Regions from separate parts of the Homo sapiens genome. Here all the other regions are linked to region 2. The links are contacts of gene promoters, found by promoter capture Hi-C in human tissues and cell types (Jung and others, 2019). All regions are on one chromosome and are shown on one strand. The core of a region is centred on a gene start or on the middle of the fragment in contact, and the rest is flanking DNA. Distances in the headings are between cores, read along the strand shown.

Region 1 (3,360 bases), core at 112-2,611, 520 kb after region 2:
TGCAATAGAACAGTCTCTCGCCGGGCGTGGTGGCTCACTCCTGTAATCCCAACATTTTGGGAGGCCAAGGCAGGCGGATCATGAGGTCAGGAAATCGAGATCTTCCTGGCTAACACGGTGAAACCCGTCTCTACTATAAATACAAAAAATTACCCAGGCATGGTGGCACGCGCCTGCAGTCCCAGCTACTTGGGAGGCTGAGGCAGGAGAATCACTTGAACCTGGGATGCGGAGGCTGCAGTGAGCTGAGATTGCGCCACTGCACTCCAGCCTGGGCAACAGAGAGACTTCGTCTCAAAAAAAAAAAAAAAAAAAAAAAAATTCTCTTATGGTAGCAGCAGACTGTACAAATAAATATAAATTCAAATTGAAATATCCTGACTTTATCACACACATAAAGATAAAATCTTCTTTAAAACCAAAGCCACAAAAAAACAAATATTTAAGAGTTTAGTAGACCAGGCCAATGAGACCTCCAGTAGGCAGTAATTGAAAATCACTGAAGAACATAGAGTCTGACAGAGTTCTCTCTTTAATTGTTCTTCTTCCCATACCTAAAATGTTTAAACACCTCAAAAATGTTCTTTCAGACTGGAAATCATGGTATTGATTATAGAATGAGATTTAATGTCAAATAAAAAGCTACATTCTCCCTTGGTATCTCTGTAAATACTGGGGGTGAAGACTAGTTAATCTTGTTTTACCCAACAAACTAATCTGCAAGTCCTAAATTAAATATAACTGAATATCCTGAGAGTAAATCGATCATTCATTAATGTAATTTAAACCAAAACTGTGATGTTTACATAAAACCAAAGAACAAAACCACAAATATGCAAAATACTGTATTTTGTATGAAAAACTATTGTAAGAATTTGAGAAATTTAGAGTTCCTTTAGAGGACTGAGCATCCCAGAAAAGTCTGTTTTTCAAAGTCTAAAAAACCTACTTTGTGGCAATGTTATGATTCCCATTTTCTATTAATTCTAGGATATACATAACATAGAGATACTTTTTATAATCTCTTTCTTTGAAGCTGAATCTTTTAAAGAATTTGTGTTGATTTATGCCAGTCACTTTGGCAGCACCATCAATCTGAGACCATTAAAAGTTTCTAAGCTATCTATAACACTTACTGTTAATGGGAATACAGGATGCAAACTTATGAGAATTGGCTACGGCTCAACTCCTCAGACGTGATTTTTTCCTCCCTCATCCCAATAATAAGAGTTAAAACATTCAAATTTCTTTACTGTCTCCTCTGGCATGGTAGGTATAGTTCTTCTTTCCATGGAGGGTATAGCCCTTTGGTGTCTCAACTTTATCTGTTGAGTAAGTTTCAGATTTTCCATTTAGGTGTTTTTTTTTTCCCACTTTTAGGGGCACATAAAATACAGTCATGTGTCATTTAATGACCGTATGTTCTGAGAATTGTGTCATCAGGAGATATCATCATTGTGTATCATATAATGCACTTACACAAACCTGGATGGTTATAGTCTACTACACATCTAGGCTATTATGGCATAGCCTATTACTCCTAGGCTACAAACCTTTATAACATGTTACAGTACTGAATACTGGAGGCAACTGTAACACAATGCTAAGTATTTGTATATCTAGACATAGAAAAGACATAGTAAAAATAAGGTAGTATATGATCTAACAGCACCACCATTGTGTATGTAGTCTGTCATTTACCAATATGGCACTATGTGGCACACAAATGTAATACTGTGTCTCTCCATTTAAGTTCAATGAAAATGGGATGTTGCTTCAAAATACTGAAGGTGAAAAATTATTAACTTAGTTGCTACAATAACGCCACAACAAATTCCATGAGCCACATCATTCTTAAGGCTACAAAGTGGTAGAGTTCATATTTACTTAATGTGAAGCATACTATAAAATCAAAACCATGTACTGCTTTACAAATTCCCATTTAAACAACTTTGGTATTATATGTAAAAGTGCTGTAATTAAAAATTTTTAGTTGTTTGAGACATAAACTAAATTTCCTAAAATGTTAAACATCTGAATATTATGAACAATTTGGCACCTTTAAAAAACGTAGCTGATATATATTTTATACAATTCATAAGTGGCCAACCATATGTATATTTATACTATGTAAACCATTTCTGTTTCCTATTCTTTTAATACGTATAAAACTAATTATCAAGATGTTCTCAGAAGAATCATCAGTTTGAGGAAAATAAAAAATAAATGAACAAAACACTAGGGAGCATCACACAACCTGTTCAGTCATTCTGAGCATCCCAGAAAGTTTCTAATGTTAGATATAAACAAACATATTTCATTTATCACTCTACATATTTTAAAAAATGAAAATAAAAAGTGGTAGTAATGAAGCAATATCAATGCTACAGTGAGTGAATTTTACAAAGTGTAAATTCAGTTGGTCCAATTTTACCATGATATGAAAAGAAAGCACCTTAAAAGTGAAGAACTTCACATGGGGACTTCACAAGTTCTTTCCTTCATAGTTATTTACTGAAGTTTTTCCTACCGGAAAGAAATCACAAACAATTGGACGTATCTCTTGTCTAGTATTACAAACAAAATCACCTGAAAAAAAAATTAACTCCTAAATCTGGTGGTTTTTTAAAAACCATTCTTGCTGCAAACCTGTAGCAGCAAATTGATAATCTAAGTAAGTTTCATGTCTACCTTTTTACTTGGGGTTCTTCATAAGTGTGCTAAAGTAAAATTCCGTAAGATAAGTACAACCTACAAAGGCTGTTTAGTATTTTAAAACAACTATCTCATATACCACTAAATTATTTTATGAACATATAAATAAATACCAAAAATCCTGAATAAATGCACAAACTGAATCTTTAAAGAGAACTAAACATTCATTCGATCGGAAATAAATGGAAATATCCTTAGCAACCAAAAGTAACTGGTGGCATTTTGTGGAAATCATTTAACCTACTTCCTCTTCATCTAAAGCAAGCCTGTCCAACCTGCAGGCCATGGGCCACATGTGGCCCAGGACAGCTTTGAATGTGTCTCAACACAAATTTGTAAGCTTTATTAAAACATTGTTTTTTTGGCTGTTTTTTTTTTTAAGCTCATCAGATATTGTTAGTGTTAGTGTATCTGATGAGTGGCCCAAGACTATTATTCTTCTTCCAAATGGCCCAGGGGAGCCAAAAGATTGGATACCCCGATCTAGAGCAATATAAATTCAAAACATCATTTTTTGATAAGAAATATTTAGATAAATAAAGGGTAGACAATATTTGTACAAATTGTTATCATGCAGAATAGAACCTTACCATGTAATAAAACAAGTGCCAGTATTCAAAATTTGCTAAACTTTCTCAACCTACA
Region 2 (3,520 bases), core at 912-3,411:
GGTCAGGCTGGTCTCAAACTCCCGACCTCCAGTGATTTACCCGCCTCGGCCTCCCAAAGTGCTGGGATTACAGGCGTGAGCCGCTGCGCCTGACCCTTGCTTTGTATTAACGATTTGAAATGAAAAGTTTTAAGATATTAAAAACGTAATATATAATTTTTCTTCTATGATATACGTGCAAGTCCAATTTGAGCTCTTTAGTATTTCATTCTACTTTTTCTAATTCCATTCTCTTGTCCAGAAGTTACAGGAGGGCCTCAAATTCATTCTTTCACCCTTAAAATGCCTTTGGGGTTCTGAATTCAGTCATGCTTAAGCTAATATGTAACTACTTGAAGCTCTGGCTTATGGCACTGGCCATAAAATAATCTAGACACAGTTTTTTTGTTTGTTTGTTTTTTTAATCTCAACAGCAGTGCCTCCTTTACAACTGTAGGACTAAACTGTGATCCACTAAACCAATGCTGGGGCCTCGGGAGCCAGGCAGGGAAAGGTTTAGAACAGAACAGACAGAGCAACTCTGCCTACTTGTACCAGAGAATTTTTCCATCAGAAAACAATGAACTTTCAAGAAAAATTTATATTGAAGAAAAGAATTCACGGTTTTTAAGTTTTAAAATCATTTGTCTAATTCTATTTTGCGCCTTCTGTTTTATTTCATTAGAACAGAATCAAAGTGTTCATAATAGCAATTTTTTAAAAGTACAGGTTGCACAAAGGTTGTATGATTCAAACAAAAGAATACTGCAATGAGGCGTTCCAAAAGGAAACAGTGAGCCTTAAGAGTGATGTTTCCCAGATTTACGCCAGTCACCTGTATTCATCCACCAAAAAAAAAGTTTAATGAAGTAAGGAACATACATATTTGAACTATTTACATATATTATTTGACTCAAACATGTTTTTTAAAATGGCTTAGGGGATTACACAACGTATCAGAATAGGGCACTTTCTACAGTCTCCTAATAACCAAATGTTAACTATGAAACAGGGGAATTACTGCTGAGATGTGCAGTATTCTTCTGAGTCTCCCCGCCCCAACCCCATTTCCAAGTTCTAAAAATTTACCTAGGGTTCTGTTAACTACTGCTACAAAAACAAACAAAAAACAAACCTGTAGTCCCAGCTACTCGGGAAGGGGAAACGGAGGTGGAGGCTGAGGTGGGAGGAATTCTAGTCGCACCTGGGCAACATAGTGAGACCCAGACTTTCGAGAATACATACATATATTTCTCAGTTTGTTTTAGTGTTACTCAAATTTCCTAAATAATTTCGTATATATCTTATCCATGTTTTTCTCATTCTATAGTCACTGAGAGACCAGCGCTTTATGACTGCAACATGTAAAATACTTGTTGTTCTGGAGTGTTTTGAGACTGGAGATTTCCTTTTCATACTCTAAAACCGAACATCTCCTAGCACCCGCGCAATCTTTGCAATCCGGGGATGAAGAGCAACACCTTTACAATTGTAATAAATCTTAAAGCTACCCTATCAGGGATTGAATGCATGAGTAATATAAATAATGGGGAAGTAAGTTCTTCCTATTCAATGCGGTTGTCTAGGTGTCAAGTGTCTAGTGTTGGGCTTCTCTAGACAGCAGGGTCTCCACTGCTGCATCATCTTCAGAAAACGATGGGGCAAAGACGGAGGTAACCAGCTGTCGAACGAGCAGGAAGTTTTTAATCACCAACTCCACAACTACTTAATCAGTCCAGTCTCCAGCGAGCCCTAGGCTCTTCCCAAATCCTACGCTTGGCAAGGAGAACGGCCCTTTGAGGGTCCCCAAACTCAGGCGGCAGGAAGCACTCCCCAGACCGCTAGCGACGCGCCGAGGTTGCCCCAGAAAAATCCCAACGTCGAAGGAGCGGGCGGCACCGCCCCTCCCCTCCCTTCGCTTTGCTTCCTAGTCCCCGGAGTCGCTACCGCCCACTTTCTAGCCGGACAAACAGCAGTCCAGGGCCAGGCACACAGCAGTCCAGGACCGGGCACAGCACTCACCCACGTCTTGCTCGAAGGGGTTGGCGGTGAACAAAGGCATCTCGCCGGCGCCCGAGCCCTAGTCGCTGCTGTCTAGCTGACACTCAGCAACTGCTACCCGCCGGGTGACCCGCGGCCGCGGCTCCCTAGACCGCTCCGCTTCGGCCTCCGTCCCTGCACTTCCGCCACCGCACCTGCCCGGCTCTTGCCTGACAGGCCGGCTCGGAGTCCACCCTTCGATCCCGCGCTCCTGTCCCAACTTTTCTCCCGGGGCGAGATCCCTCCGACCATGGGCGTCCTCCCAAGGCCTTTGTCGCTGCCCCTGTCCCAGACTTTTGTAGGGGTCAGGCGGCCGCTACGGCCACCTTTCCAGCGCTAGGACCCCGGCTAGCCACGAAGCCGGGGACCTTCGGAGCCGGAAGTAGTCCCGCCTGGAACTGGACGACCCCGGAAGCTGCAGTGCCAGCGGCGGCGCGGCAGGGGGCGCGGTTACCCGTGGTTTTTCGCGTTGGACGACGGGCTCTGAGGGCCAAGTTCTTGTCACGAATTTAGTTTGTTTCAGAGCGGCAGGACTCGTAGCTAGAGAACGAGGACCCACGACGCGTACGCGTTACAGTCCTGTTTCCCTAGAAACGGAGCTGCCGGCGCGGAGGTGGCTTTGAGATTCTGCGAAAGACCTGACTGCTCTTCAACAATTATTGTGTTGCACCCTCCCAGGCGCCCAGTCCAAACCCCGTCAGAATAACCACCCGGGACAGCGGTGGTCGAAGTAACTACGCCTAACTTTTCGCTTTCCATCGTGTCCCCTCCATAAAAACACTGCTGGGCCCCCGGAATCCAAAGGCGAAGGAGGCACACTCCCTGCCTTAGACTTGTTGAGAGTTTTATAGGGGCAGTGCATAACGTACATGATGGTGTATGACGATTCGGATGGTAGTACGAGTCATAAACTCAAATTCCAACAGCATCCAGCCAGGTATTTAAATGAATGCAAAAGCCCAAGCACCCTTCCCACCCACATATTCTCTGTTCCTCTTAGAAAACTGTAGTAATGATTATGTTGCCTGTCTCTCCTCCTCATTAGATTATAAACTCCCTGATAAGTTTTGGTCACTACTATATCCCCAGCGTCTAAAACAGTGTCCCAAGTAATAGACGCTCAATGCTTTTCGAATGAAGCTGTAACTTTCTAACTGAACAGTGCGTATCTAAAGATGTCAACTACTGGTAAATTGCAGCCATTTATTGAAATGTGGGTCCTACTAGAGTTTGCAATTTTTCAATGATGTTTAAATGTTGAGAATTACTCCAACATTTTAAATAATAGATTAATCAAAACCATTTTACAAACTCTAGTATAAAGACCTGATGCTATAGAGAGCTCATACACATTCAGAAAGGTGGTTGCATTTTATAAAGTTCGGGGCACAAATGAGAAGGAATCGTGCAGAAGGGGCTGTTTTTCATAGAACGTTGAACCTAGGGATGTTCAAGATAAATTGGGAGGCCGGGCATGGTGGCTCACGCATGTAATCCCAGC
Region 3 (3,581 bases), core at 421-2,920, 770 kb before region 2:
TGTAAATAAATATAAATATATATAAATACATATAAATAAATAAATATATATATAAGCATACTATGTATGTACTGCGTCGTTTGGCAGTCATTTTGCTAAGTGCAGATGACACAAAGAAGAGCAAAAAGCAACATCCCACTTCTAGAGCTGAGAGTTGCAGCACATGTGAGTGAGGGCTCAAATCCTGGGCCAGGAACCCATGATGGAGAGTTCCATTGCTGCTGGGCTTCATGTGTCTGATTTAGAGTTAATGCAATCCTGTCTGTTGTGGAGAGTGCACGAAGGCATATGAAAAGGGGAGAAGCAGACCGGGCGCGGTGGCTCACGCCTGTAATCCCAGCACTTTGGGTGTCCGAGGCGGGTGGATCACGAGGTCAGGGGTTCGAGACCAGCACGGCCAAGATGGTGAAACCCCGTCTCTACTAAAAGTACAAAAATTAGCCAGGTGTGGTGGCGGGCGCCTGTAATCCCAGCTGCTCGGGAGGCTGAGTCAGAGACTCGCTTGAACCCGGGAGGCAGAGGTTGCAGTGAGCCGAGATCGCACCACTGCACTCCAGCCTGGGCGAAAGAACGAGGCTCCGTCTTAAAAAAAAAAAAAGGCGGGGGAGGAGCAGCATATTCACAGTAAGGAGAAATGACTGTCATTGTGTTTACTGACGTTTCTCTAGGGAAGAAGCCCTGGCCAAATCCCACCCTTCAACCCCCCAGGGGCCTAACAGAAGAATGCACATCCTCGGGAGCTACCTAAATCTACTGAATTACAATGCATATGGGCGGGGCCCAGGAATCTGCAGTTTAATAACGAATATCCCCAGGCCATTGTTATGTACGCTTAAGACCTGAGAACCATTGGCCTCTCCAACCTTTTCTCACTTCACCTATTAAAAGCCCTATTTTATAGAGGAGGAAATTGAGGCATAGGTTAATTAACTTGCTAAAGTCACATGGAACCTAGACCAGCTGGAATCTAGACCAGCTTGAGATACAGTTCTTTTCTTTTTCTTTCTTTCTTTTTTTTTTTTTTTGAGAGACGGAGTCTTACTCTTACTCTGTCGCTCAGGCTGGAGTGCAGTGGCGTGATCTCGGCCCACTGCAACCTCCGCTTCCCGGGTTTAAGCGATTCTCCTGCCTCAGCTTCCCAAGTGGCTGGGACTACAGGCGTGCGCCACCACACCCAACTAATTTTTGTATTTTTGTTTTTTTTAAGTAGAGACGGGGTTTCACCATGTGTTGGCCAGGCTGGTCTCGAACTCCTGACCTCAGACTCGGCCTCCCAAAGTGCTTGGATTACAAGGTGTGAGTCACCGCGCCCGGCCAGCTCTTAGTCTTAAACCCAACAGTACGTTATCTCCTTTTGCTAACTGATTTGTTGCTAAAACTTCAACAAGCACTGGACTTGGAGTTTGAACACTTAGTCTGAGGGCCCACTATGTTCAGTCTAGTGAGTCTGAGCAATTAACTCACATTTTGAATTTCAAGTCTCTCGCCTTAGGCAAAACACCACCACCTGATGCTCACCAGAGGGGCGTGACGCGGCAGCTGGGCAGGGAAGGGATGGGAAGGGATGGGAAGGGAGGCGATCGATAACTCCGGTGTGCCGCTGACTGTTGGATTGGCTCGAACTTCTCCCGCCAGGCCTAACCTACTCCCGCGCACTCCTGGGCCCGCCCAGCCGCCATCTTGGTCTAGGAGGGAGCGCGCCGCACGCGTGAGTAAACAGCCGGAGCTGGGAAAGTCGAGCTCTGGCAGCGTCTGGGTGCTGAGGGGCAGAGGCGGAGAGAACCCTGTCCTGATCTTCCTAGGTGGGATAAATATCGGGGTGACAGTGGTAGGCCGCGGGGAACCCTCAGTCTGCCCACCCTCCGCCCCCTCGCGGCGAGATGCCTCGTTCCCCGGGCTTCTCCCGCCCTCCGCCGATCTCCTCCCTCTGTTGAAAGCTGCCCGGGAAAGTGGTGGCGGGAGCGGGCCCAGGCCCGAATGTGGCGTGGGCTCAGGTGTCTGGTGTCGGGCGCCGGAGGAGGTTCGCGCTGGGGTTTGGTGATTCGGAGGCCTGGGGTGCAGACGCGGCGTGGCTGTGAGGCCCGGGCGGGCGTGCGGGTGTGAGGGCCGGACTCACACTGGGCCGCCGCGGGGCTGTTTCCATCGGTCACTGGATTTTCTCCTCTTCCGGTTCGGGCCTCAGGGTGGCCGACATGACGGCCAGGGGTCAGAGCCCCCTCGCGCCGCTGTTGGAGACTTTGGAAGACCCTTCTGCCTCCCATGGAGGGCAGACTGACGCTTACCTGACTCTGACCAGGTGAGGTCCGCCACGGGGCGTAGCGGAGAGTGGGGCGCTCTATAGTGGGGAGAAAGAAGGTGGTTGGGAGGGGCGCGTAGAATGAATGTGAGTTCTAGAAGTCTAGCAAATGTGAGGACGCCCGAGTCGCGGACGCCTTGGGGGGCGGGGGAGATGTATTCTAGGTGACGTTCCCGGGTACTGCTGCTGCTGCGCTTGAGGTGTGTGTTTGGAACGAGGGAGCATGCACGTGTGTTTTGCAAGCGAGGGATTTTTAAAAGTTTCGGTTGGAAGTAGTTGTTGGAGGAGGGGTCTTCAGTGTAAACCTCCGATGTGTTGGGAAAATGTGGCTACCCAGAGTTTTTTTAACAGAGCAATACACTGATTTTTATTAATTGCAAAATGCTTCAAAGTAATTTTCATAGAAATGTACTAAAGTTTTGTAAAACCCTTTGGAAAGGCTTAGCAAATCGTTAGTAACTAGGAATAGGGATCCCTGTTCTGTCTTTTTGGAGTCAGGTTGTCACAACTTGCATGTACTCGATGTAAAAACTTATTCTGAGGGTTTTTCTACTTTCATTTCTGATATATATTGCATTATATATTCTGTATACCCTTAAGGACCTTACCTACTGGGTCAATTCATTTGCAGGAGTTAGAAAGTAATTTTTAAAAAGATTGTACATGTATTTTTGAGAGTATTTTTTTTTTTCCTGTCAACTACTTAAACTTGTGTTCTTCCTGCTTTTTAAGTCGTATGACTGGAGAAGAAGGAAAAGAAGTAATTACAGAAATTGAGAAAAAACTTCCTCGGCTGTACAAAGTTTTAAAGGTATGTATCTGTTTGTTAAACAGTTTTTCACTTTTGGTAGTTTGGTTTTTTTTTTTGGTTTTGTTTTTTTGTTTTGAGGTGTAGTTTTGCTCTTGTTGCCCAGGCGAGAGTGCAATGGCTCAGGCTCGGGCTCGGCTCACTGAAACCTCCGCCTCTCGGGTTCAAGCGATTCTCTTGCCTCAGCCTCCTGAATAGCTGGGATTATAGGCATCCGCCACCGCCCCGGCTAATTTTGTATTTTTAGTAGAGAAGGGGTTTCTCCATGTTGGTCAGGCTGGTCTCGAACTCCCGACCTCAGGTGATCCGCCTGCCTCAGCCTCCCAAAGTGTTGGGATTACAGGAGTGAGCCACTGTGTCCAGCCACTTTTGGTGGTTTTTAAAAGTTTTGCCAGTTGACTCAAAAGCTTTGAATCTAAAATAACAGCAATAATACTGATTATAATACTCTTTATTGTTACTTAAAGCTTCTCAGGT

Evidence for each region. The method cuts DNA at HindIII sites, captures the fragments that hold promoters and counts their contacts. A contact is called where the count stands out against the background at its distance.
Region 1: a fragment that was not itself captured here is called in contact with the fragment with the promoter of STAM2 in region 2 in 1 of the 25 tissues and cell types used here (lymphoblastoid cells).
Region 3: the fragment with the promoter of RIF1 here is called in contact with the fragment with the promoter of STAM2 in region 2 in 1 of the 25 tissues and cell types used here (stomach).

The regions. Positions count from the first base shown.
Region 1 is chr2:152,696,189-152,699,548 of GRCh38, forward strand. The region is part of intron 2 of PRPF40A (pre-mRNA processing factor 40A); the gene reads right to left. Among named protein-coding and RNA genes, the nearest start is that of PRPF40A, 20 kb to the right of the region's middle. The HindIII fragment of the contact is 9,200 bases long and covers 1-3,360 here.
Region 2 is chr2:152,173,602-152,177,121 of GRCh38, forward strand. It overlaps STAM2 (signal transducing adaptor molecule 2), which reads right to left and starts at 2,162. Exons shown (of 14, transcript NM_005843.6): 1 at 2,002-2,162. The coding sequence starts at 2,041. It overlaps LOC105373689 (a long non-coding RNA gene), which reads left to right and starts at 1,932. Exons shown (of 3, transcript XR_923477.3): 1 at 1,932-2,956. RefSeq lists enhancers at 1,700-1,749, 1,800-1,939, 2,100-2,623, 2,100-2,519. The HindIII fragment of the contact is 11,387 bases long and covers 1-3,520 here.
Region 3 is chr2:151,408,232-151,411,812 of GRCh38, forward strand. It overlaps RIF1 (replication timing regulatory factor 1), which reads left to right and starts at 1,671. Exons shown (of 36, transcript NM_018151.5): 1 at 1,671-1,802; 2 at 2,183-2,296; 3 at 3,029-3,107. The coding sequence starts at 2,193. RefSeq lists enhancers at 582-1,280, 1,281-1,979, 1,584-1,743 and a silencer at 584-878. The HindIII fragment of the contact is 11,212 bases long and covers 1-3,581 here.